Linked DNA regions of Homo sapiens: region 1 is linked to region 2. Evidence: promoter capture Hi-C in human tissues and cell types (Jung and others, 2019). All regions are on one chromosome and are shown on one strand. The core of a region is centred on a gene start or on the middle of the fragment in contact, and the rest is flanking DNA. Distances in the headings are between cores, read along the strand shown.

The links. Contacts are between HindIII fragments. The study calls those that stand out against the background at their distance.
Region 1: a fragment that was not itself captured here is called in contact with the fragment with the promoter of RAX in region 2 in 3 of the 25 tissues and cell types used here (H1 embryonic stem cells, lymphoblastoid cells and mesendoderm cells).

Annotation. Positions count from the first base shown.
Region 1 is chr18:59,306,178-59,311,606 of GRCh38, reverse strand. All of the region lies in intron 2 of CPLX4 (complexin 4), which reads left to right. Among named protein-coding and RNA genes, the nearest start is that of CPLX4, 9.8 kb to the left of the region's middle. RefSeq lists silencers at 2,647-2,706, 2,747-2,796, 2,847-2,916. The HindIII fragment of the contact is 4,229 bases long and covers 1-3,877 here.
Region 2 is chr18:59,272,204-59,277,436 of GRCh38, reverse strand. RAX (retina and anterior neural fold homeobox) reads left to right here and starts at 3,983. Exons shown (of 3, transcript NM_013435.3): 1 at 3,983-4,519; 2 at 4,823-5,076. The coding sequence starts at 4,231. The HindIII fragment of the contact is 4,384 bases long and covers 1-4,247 here.

The DNA.
Region 1 (5,429 bases), core at 514-3,013, 36 kb before region 2:
CCAAAGTAAAAGATCCCTCCAAAGGGCATGATCCCAAGTATGAGAGCCATCTCCAAGTCTGGGTGGTCTAGAAAGTGCTGCTAAACCAATTCCTTCCATGGATCCCCAGCAGATCCCAGAAAAAGCTGATTTTAGAAACTACAAGCACTAGACAAGGGAGAAGCCACTGTCTATGCAAGGTCACTGATGAAATCACCAAAGACTTAAACATGGTAGAGGTTGATCCCTAAGGTGCCCAAGGAACCTGGGTTCTGTTCTTAATAAGGGAAGGAAAACCCACAATAAAATGTAAGCTCATTTCATTCACAACCAATGAACTTGGAAAAGAATGCCTTGCTTTTCCTACCCCCAGCCCCGTTCAGGTTTAATAACTTTTCCTCACTGTGCTTGCATTTTGGAAGAGTGAAGCACTTCTAAACACTGTCCTTTCCACTTTCATTGTCTGGTGAATTTCCTGAAACTCCCTGGATGTCATTGGCTCACTTTAGCAATGTGGTCTCGCCCTAGGCAGGAAGATTGAGTCGGATTCATGCTACTGCGCTGAAGCCCCTGGCCTCTGCTCTTGGGCCATCTGATTAAAGCATCATCAACTTGTTGGGATGAAGCAGAAATTTCACACACACACACACACACACACACACACACACACACACACACACGATTGGCTGGGTGTGCATCGTCCAGAATGTAGGGCTTTTTACAGATTTATTTTTGGCAACTGTTATTCTTCTGTAGGGATCTAGGGAGAATTGGGGTTCCGTTGTAGCTCTGTGATGCAATATCACATGGTTTTTAAAAATATCTGAGTCTCTTAATTTATGCAGCAGCAATAGAAAAAAAAATCTGAGCCTCAGTATCCTCATCTATAAAATGAGGGCTGAAGTACCTAACTTCATAGGATCTTTGTCTGAGATAATGTAATATAAAGGACCTAGTACAACGCCTGACAATAGAGCTCTTATTATTGACATTATGATCTCTGGGCACAAAAGTCTTATTTCCTGATAATAACAACCAGGGGTCTTGAGGACCGCCAGTCCTTAGGTGTGTAATCAATGCAACAATGGAGGTTCCTGAGCCTCAAGGCCCCAAGCCTTTTATCTGTTTCTCCACTAATGGTAAATCAGCAGTCTTGCTGACTTCCAGATCTTCAGGGGTGAACACCCTTAGGCTTAGCAGTAAGGTTTAAGTACTCTTCCAAGAAAAATAATTCTTAAATCTCTGTGCCAGGGTATCTTTTGAAACAAGAGCCTTTCCAACAGAAACTATGGAAAGAGGAAAAAATGATAGCCATGAAATGCACAAATCCAGGTCCTCTCTGGAGAATGATTGTGGCTATACCTGCATAGGCTACTGCTCTCTAAAGCCAGCTAGGGGGAGGGACCGACATGAAGGATGTTGATAAATAACAGTAGAGCCCACCAGTGTCTTTCATTGCATGGCTTACTGATGTTCATATAGCCCCTTTTCTACAGCTGTTTCAAATGCATAATGCATTTGAGACCCCACCTGATTTTCTCATAGACCATGAAAGAGACCATAAAGCTCATCTAATAATCTCATACCACTGCGTCATTTTACACCTGAGATAACTGCAGCCCAGGAGGGTTAAGTAGCTTTGCAATAAGCCACATCTCCTGTGACAGACTTAGGACTGGAACTCAGGCCCCACAACCATGAAAAAGAGCAGCTTGTTCACAAAAGGACTTCAACAGGGCTCCTCCTTTCAAGGCATTTGTTCTTTCTACTCTTTTTTTCTTTTTCTTTTTTTTTTTTTTTTTTTTGACACAGAGTCTCACTCTGTCACCCAGGCTGGAGTGCAGTGGCATGATCTCCCCTCACTGCAAGCTCTGCCTCCTGGGTTCACCCCATTCTCCTGCCTCAGTCTCCCGAGTAGCTGGGACTACAGGCGCCCACCACCACTCCTGGCTAATTTTTTGTATTTTTAGTAGACACGGGGTTTCACCGTGTTAACCAGGATGGTCTCGATCTCCTGACCTTGTGATCCGCCCACCTCGGCCTCCCTAAGTGCTGGGATTATAGGCGTGAGCCACTGCGCCCGGCCTCTTTCTACTCTTAATATTTTGAGCTGTTCCCCAAAATTTTAGGGCAGTTTTGAATTCCACGTGGCTTAAAAAAATGGGAGCATATTATTTCTCCTGTGTTGTCTAACGGTTTGACCCTAGATCTGCAAGTAGCTGTCTAAATTCCAAATACAATCCAAACAAACAGATAAGAATTTCACTTGAGAACATTGTACACACCATCATTCATTGCAGTTTACTTCCAGGTGGGGACCCCCTCCTCCAAGGGCGTTTTTATATTTGGTTGCATTTGTAACAATGGATTCTACACACAATGTTTCAAAACCGTGCCTATGGTATGGAAGATACTACAAATACCAATAATACAATTGCCTGCTTTTTGTAAAGCACATGGAAATTCTAATCCCGTGTAGCTAGCTATAAAAATAGCACCTAATAAAACTATATGATAAGAAAAATCGGCTACTCTGGGCAGACTGCCCTGCTCTGCAAGGAGCAGTTTAAAAACTAAAATTTAAAAGTTTAAAAAATCAGCTGGATCGTATTCCACTTAGTCCAGTTATCACCAGCTGTGGCTAACTTCCCCTACCCCAGTGCAACACTTTGCGCTTGCAAACCAGCCCCACCCTTGGGCGCCTCCTCTGCCTCCCGCGCTGTCACTTGTCGCACGTTACCCTCCCGCCCGCGTCCCCGCACTGACGAGGCTCTGGGTACAGGGACCCTTCGATGGCCCATGTGGCGAAAAAGAGGCTGCGGGGGACAGACACGTTTCCCAGGCTAACGTCTGCCCAGGCTATGCAGAACAGCCGCTCCCGTCCAAGCCAGATCCTGGCTGGAGCAAGGAGGGCGCAGCGGTCGCCAGCGCGGGCCCCGAATCCTCGACGCCGGCGCCCCCTGGTGTTCCTAGCGCCGCGGCCACTGGCACCCGCGGGAGGCGGAACCCGGGCTGCGGGTGGTGGCAGGACCAGGGAGGGGCAGAAACCAATTTCTAGAGGTGACTTAAAAAAAAAAAAAAAAAAAGTCTTGATAGGTCATTGGATGGGATGGGGGGGAAAACAAAACAACAACAAAGAAAGAAAGAAAAGGAAAAAAAAAAAGCCTTACTATTTTGTTATTAAGGACCAGATCGTGCGTTTTCTATCCTCCCATGGCATAACGGGAGAGGGAGCTCGCAAACAGCCGAGTTTCCGCTGTCTCCGCAGTGACCAGGCTGCAGAGAGATTCTGAAACGACAGCAATCGAGGGCGGGCTGAAGGAATTGGAATCTTCGGCCTTGAGAGATGACTGAATAAATGAAGCTTATGGGGGGCAGAATCATGCCCCAGGCCTCCAGTGCCATGCTTTTTATTCTAATACTGAATTCAGCCAACTTACCCAGTGGCTTAGCTGCTGGTTGTTATTGAACTGTAGGTACCTAAAGTCTGTCTCTGATTACGCAGAGGAAACTCCGTAATGGAACCTTTAGAAAGCCATCCTTAGAGAGAGGCCGGACGCGGTGGCTCACGCCTGTAATCCCAGCACATTGAGAGGCCGAGGCGGGCGGATCACCTGAGGTCAAGAGTTCAAAACCAGCCTGGCCAACATGGTGAAACCCCGTCTCTACTACAAATACAAAAAAAAAAAAATTAGCCGGGCAAAAAAAATTAGCCGGCCATGGTGGCGGACCCCTGTAATCCCAGCTACCCAGGAGGCTAAGGCAGGGGAATTGCTGGAACCCGGGATGCAGAGGCTGCAGTGAGCCGAGATTGGGCCACTGCACTCCAGCCTGGGCGACAGAGCAAGACTCCATTTCAAAAAAAAAAAAAAAATCAGAAAAACACAGTGGGGATGCGAGGTGTAGGGTTTTGTCTCCTAGATGCTTCATTAAGGAGCAAGGAGACCCTGGAAGGCCAGACAGTGCCCATCTGGGTCACTAAGAGATGTGATTGACAAGCCCAAGGCATGGTGCTCTGTCCAAAGAACTGGAGGGAAGGAGAGGAGAGGCAGGCCTGCCAGTGCTGGCTCTTACTGAGGCCAGGGGAGGGCTGACCGAGGGCTGAACCAAAGGAACTGCTGTATTCGGAGGGAAACAGAGCAACAGATTCCCAAGTCCTTATAAGTCCCCTCTTTGGGGCTTGGCTTCCAAGGTCATCTGAGGAACATGCCAACCATCACTTCCCTCCAACCTTCTAAGTTCTTTTCCTAGAACAGGTTCAGGTTCCTGGATGACCACAGTACTTTGGCTCCTCGACACCAGTGTCTGAGTGCTGTTTCTCTTTTCAATAGACTTATTTTTTTACATCCGGAAAAGCACATACCATATGTGTGCACTCAATACATAACCATAAGGATCATGTAAATGTAGGGACGTTCCGAAGGTCACAAAGCTTGCTGTGACAAATGGAGACTCAAGCCTCCTTACTCTTCATCCAGGACTTTTTCGTGCCCCCTTCTCCTCATATCCCTCTAAACTGGGCATCAGATTCCTGGTGGTAGACTTTAGAACTGAACAGACTGTCTGACAAAGAAAACGGCACAAGACAGAAAGCAGGGGTCACTGGGACTCTAGTGGGTTCCTAATAACCGTCCCCTCCCTGCCAGGTTTGCAGAATACTTAACCTGTGCCATCTTCTAAAGCCCATATTGGGTAAGCATTCATAGTAATAGTATTAACAGCCCACAGGGAATTGGACGAATTTAACATGTCCTCCAGCTAATGAGGGATGACCCCCTGGGTGCCTCATTCACAATTCCCCAGGGTCACCACCACAGCGGTTACATAACAGCAGGATTCAGTTCTAGACCCTTCCCCTGACCAAGGCCCGACGGGGAGCAGATTTGAGAAAATGTCTTCCCGGGAGCTGTCAGGTCTAATGAGGATAACTATGTCACATTTTGGAATTAGAACTGTATTTTCTAAAGAAATTATTTGGCTGGTGTTTCCTCTGAAAAAGAGTTTCACTCTATTGCTGACAGGGAAAAGCAAATGTAGACTCTTTGAAAAGGAGCAACATAAGCCATAGCCCTCTAGATAAACAATAAAAGGTCTTGGGTCTCAAGTTTATTAATTGTTAGTGACAATACTATTTGCTATACCAATGTCTTTTGGTGACCATTGTTAATTTTGGTAATCAGATAAGTAATTAAATAAGGGCAGTAATCAAATTGCAGTAATCTGCAGTAAGTATGTATATGTATATGTATCTATACCAGTCATTATAATGTTCGTGTACACATATCCAGATTATGTCGATTTCCTCTAGTTGTCAAATTATAGGTCATCAGAGGACTTAAAATGCCTAAAGTCATCCATGATGCTCACGTTAGATTTGGATCGCACACCACTAATTATTCCACATCCTGTATCTTCAGTTTCTCCTTCTTGATTGGCCTCTCCTTAATAAA
Region 2 (5,233 bases), core at 2,734-5,233:
CTACAAAAAAATACAAAAATTAGCTGGATGTGATGGCCTGCACCTGTAGTCCCAGCTTTGCAGGAAGCTGAGGTGGGAGGATACTTGAGCCCAAGAGGTTGAGGCTGCAGTGAGCTGTGATCATGTTACTGCACTCCAGCCTGGGCAACAGAGCCAGACTCTGTCTCTAATAATAATAATAATAGCAGCATCTACATCATAGGATTATCGTAAGAACTAAATTGGGCAATTCATGTAAAATAATACTCAAAAGCTTATGGCATATACCCACTGACATGTACTTAGCATTCAATAAATAGTAGCTCTTGTATGTATTCTTAACTCTTGACAACTGAATTTGTTGAACTTCAGTGTGTGTGTATGGTGTGTGTGCGTGTTTAGTGATTATATGAGTTGTGTTTTGCTCTGGCTAAAACTAAAAGTAAGTTGCCTTTCTTGCACGTGTATCAGCTAGTGGGAGGAGGAGGTCCTCGAATATGGCGTGACACAGGGGGAGTTATTCCAGGATTAAAATACATCTGCTATGGGGAAAATCTACATGCAGACAATCAAGTTTATTTGATACACTTTACGAATTGATATATCATAGGCCTTTCCACAGACATTTTCACCCTAATGTAAAACATCGCTGAGAGGTGAAATGACTAGAGACTGTGGCTGAATGTCCTTAATTCACCGCTCTCCCTCTCCTTCTCCGTCCAGTGCACAGGGATATGCATGTCTCCCCCGTGTTGTAGGTGAGACTGTTCATCCAGAATACTTCCAGAAATTGGACCTTCTCCATACAGCCACGATCAAGGAGTCGCTTTATACTACAACTTCCTCACGTTTGGAAATGTGTGTCTCCCAACCATCCGAAGTTTAATGGGGCTTTAGCTGTGTCTAAGGTTGGCCGCAGGTGGGGGATGGAAGGAGGGGTTTTCTTTGATCCATCTAATGAATTAATGAATTAATCAGAGGTGGGGTTCAGAAGCCAGGCTCCTTACTGTTGCTGAAGCAGGGCTGATTATGAGCTAGCCTAACTGCTGGAAAAATGCAGCTTCATGCTAGAAGAATTAGGGACATGGCCCAGTCCATTCATCTTCCCTAATCGAGTTCTTGGGAAATACACACGTAGATTAGCCCCTAACAATGACCCCCGGCTGATTGCTTGGAGTACCCTCCACCGTGCCCACAATGGTACTGACTAGCTCTTTATGTCCTGCACAAAGGAAGCCCCAACTCCCCCTTGTCCTCCTCTGCCCTGTCTCCCCCACCCCCATCACCACCACCCCTGCCCTCGCCAGTGGCTGTTGAAGTCTTTTCTGCTTTTTTCCCCAGACTCTGAAACAAACAGTAAATAAAAGCTAACCTCACCTGGACTTATTAGGAGGAGCTGGGCAGTTCCAGAGGAATTAACTTTGGAAAACAAGGCCATAAACCCCTTAGCAGCGTGTGGGCAGGAGCTTAAGGAAACGCTGCCAATCTTTGTTTAGCGGTGATTATCGAGATCAATTTAATATTGGGGAAGTTTGCATAAAAAGCATTCTCGGTCAGAGGGGGAACAACAAATACCAATTAATTATCCCCACAGCTGCCCTCTGATCACCACCACCTCAGCACGTCAGCCACCTGGTCTATGTCACTGGCAGTCAGACCTTTTCGGGTGCCACCAGGCCATTTGTGGGCCCTGGAAAGGTGGAGGAGGGGCGGAGGAGGAGGCAAAACCTGGTCTGTCAGGGGACTTTCCAGAGGGTTTGTTAATTTGCCCTGGATGCCGGTACCCAAAGCCCACTCTCTATAGGCTCTGACTTTATTTCTTCTGGGAGCTAAACTGCTTCTACCTCCGCCTCTTAGATGCAGAATCCAGTCTCAGGGAAGGATTAAAGACAGACTGCAGGCTAAGATGGGCTTTGATTCTTTTCAAAAAGATCACACACTACAATAATAATTACAAATGAGCTGCAGGCAGAAAACACTGGACAAGGAGTCAGTGGCCTGAGTTCTAGTCCTGACCCTTCCACTTAATAGCTGTATCACTTTGAGCCTCAGTTTCCTCTTCTGTAAAATGGGGACCAATATGTCTGTCCTGCTCACCTCACAAGGTTGTGAAGATCAGATGACATGAAGAATGTGAGAAGATTCTGAAACCTACAAAGTGACATGTCGAGAGAATTGCTTGAGCCCAGGAGTTCCAGGCTGCAGTGAGCCACCATCATGCCACTGCACTCCAGCCTGGGCAACAGAGAGGGACCCTGTCTCTAAAATAAACAGACAAATAAATAATAAGTAAATAAAGTAATATGTGAACACTGTAAAGTGCTATTAACTTTCATTAATTTTAGCTTTTTTCTTAAAAGATAATTTCTGACTTGAATTAGTTCAATTTCTATCTCCTGCAGTCACATGCTTGCCCTTATTTTAGTTTGCCATTATATAGTTTTATTAAAAGTAGATATGCCCATCATGGGGAATTAACCATTGAATGATCCTTAAGAAATTGACTTGTCCTCCGCAAACATCCTTCTAACACCAATTTAAAGGTTGGGGATCTGAGGATGTGTGTTTTCCCTCTTCCTTTGTCTTGTCTTCCAGACTGGACGTTAAACTCCACCAGGCCAACGGCCCTGGCCTTTCCCAATTTGTTTGATGCCCACGACGTGGCCCTCGACGGTTGCCTTGCCCTCTAAAGGGACGCAGCAAACGCTTGTCTGAACGCAAGCGGGATAAAGAAGACACCCCTGCTGTGGAGATCAGAGCGCCTACTGAAAAGGAGATTTTAGGGATATTGTCCTCTAGGTCCTTGAGCTTTTATAGGAAAGCATTTTAATTCACGGTTCAGGCCACCAGTTCAGGGAAGGCCAAGCGCTCGCCTCGGGTCTCGCCTCAGATTTGAGGGGTGAGACGTTCACAGCGCCATTGTCCATCCGCGCTGCTGGAGGTGAAACACACTCACCCTATCCAATCATCTTTCCAAGTGGCCGATCAGTCACTGTGGGCCACGGAAGCCTCGAGGGGGTCCAAAGGAGAAAGAACTGCAAGCCAATTACTCCTGAACCCTCGGGGAGGCGAGAGGCCTCTTCCCCGGGAGAAGGTCCTTCCCCAGCCAGCTCTGGGCCATCTCCTTGGCCCGGAGTGTTGGAGGGAGGCGGGAGTGCGACACCGCTGCTCATCAGTAAAGGAGCCCGCCCTCCCCGCAGGACAAGGGGCGGGAGCGAGGAACTCCAGGTGGGTCTCCTGCGGGACCTGAGCCCGGCAGCACATCCGACTCGGGGCTCCCAGTCTCCTGCTGGGCGATCGGGCGCTAGAGGTCACCGGACTTGCGGACATAAATGGCCCTGGGGTGGGCGCTGCGGGGAAGGAGGGAGGCTGCCGGCGCTCAAGTCCGAGGGGACTGGGAGGAGTTACAACAGATATAGACGGACAAACTAAACGCGAGGTCCGGGACTTCGTACAACCCAGCCAAGAAAGGAGTGGGTCCCGAAAAGGGAGCCAGCGAGGGGAAATTCAAACTGCGACGAGTGCGGGGCTGGGAAGCCTTCGGCTGGGTCTCGGCGCTTCCAGGGGGCACAGGCCAGGGTGGCGGCCCCGCGGAGGTGAGCCAGAGGGGGCTAGAGGGGCGAGTCTGAAGCTGGGGAGGGGTGCGTCCAAGGAGGGAGGTGACCCCCAGGGGGTAGTCTGAAGTGAGAGGGTAAGCCCGAAGTAGAGGGAGACAAACGCAAGGGGAGAGATGAGCCCAAGGGCGTCGGCCCCACTGAGGCAGGACTAGGGGTGCGCCGCGACCAGGTTCCCGAGCCCATCAGGCATCCCGCCGCGGATCCCCGGAGTGTGTTTGTAAAGCTTAAAACGGATCAAGAGGTGGAAGGGGAATATTCCTAGTGCCGGCCCAGGGGTGGCCACTAGAGGACCCTGTGGCTGGGCCGGGTGAGGACACGCCCCTCTGTGGAGGGAGGGGCCGAGAGAAGGGGCTGGGTCCAGGGCGAGAGGGGAGGAGCCGAGGGCCAGTTGGCTCCCCGCCTTTAGCGCCGAGAGCCCCAGCTACCCCGAGCCCGAACTTCCGACTTCTGGGACTAAGGCGGCAGCGGGCTGAGCGCTCGGCCACCCCCAGCGTGCGCAGCCCGGGCGGGCTTCGCCCGCGGAGCTTGACCTAGGGTCGGGACCCGTCGGGTTGCACCGCCGCACTCGGGAAGACCCGGCTTCGAGCCTCTCCTCTCCGTCTCCAAAGCGCCCTCCCGCCTCCCGGCGCTCCCCATGCACCTGCCGGGCTGCGCGCCAGCCATGGCCGACGGGAGCTTCTCGCTTGCCGGCCACCTGCTCCGCAGCCCGGGCGGGAGCACCTCGCGACTTCACAGCATCGAGGCCATCCTGGGGTTTACCAAGGACGACGGGATCCTCGGCACCTTCCCGGCGGAGCGGGGCGCCCGGGGCGCGAAGGAGCGGGATAGGAGGCTGGGCGCGCGGCCCGCCTGCCCCAAGGCGCCCGAGGAAGGCTCCGAGCCCTCCCCGCCGCCAGCCCCGGCGCCCGCCCCCGAGTACGAAGGTGAGTGCGCACCCCTGGCTGTGCGAGGCCGTTCGGGCGCCCGAGCTTAGGAGTTGGCCAGACGAGAGCGCCCCTTCCTTAACTTTTATTAAGGCAACTGGGCGCGGGGTTGGGGACCGTCTATGGCGGGAGCTTCCAATTTGCATTCAGAGAAAGCTTAGGACCCATCGCCGCCCTCACCACGGACCTCCCCGGGCCATCTCGGAGCCCGCAGGCGGGCTGGCCAGTGCCCACAGCGAGGCGGGGTCGGCCCAAGGGTGTTTTGGGGAGTGCATCTGACCCTCCCGGGCCTCGTCGCCCCAGCCCCTCGACCCTACTGCCCCAAGGAGCCCGGGGAGGCACGGCCGAGCCCAGGGCTGCCCGTCGGGCCAGCCACCGGCGAAGCGAAACTGTCAGAGGAGGAACAGCCCAAGAAAAAGCATCGGCGGAACCGCACGACTTTCACCACGTACCAGCTGCATGAGCTGGAGCGCGCGTTCGAGAAGTCCCACTACCCGGACGTGTACAGCCGCGAGGAGCTGGCCGGCAAGGTCAACCTACCAGAGGTCCGGGTCCAGGTAAAGCGCCCAGGTTGAGGAACTGGGATCTGGGAGGGCCCGAGGCCCAAATTGCAGCCAATGCTTCTCGGAATTCACGGGTGTCCATGCATTTATTACTGTCCTTCCTCGACTTGGCATGCCCAGAGTCTCAAGGGAGAGGCACAGATCTTCGATG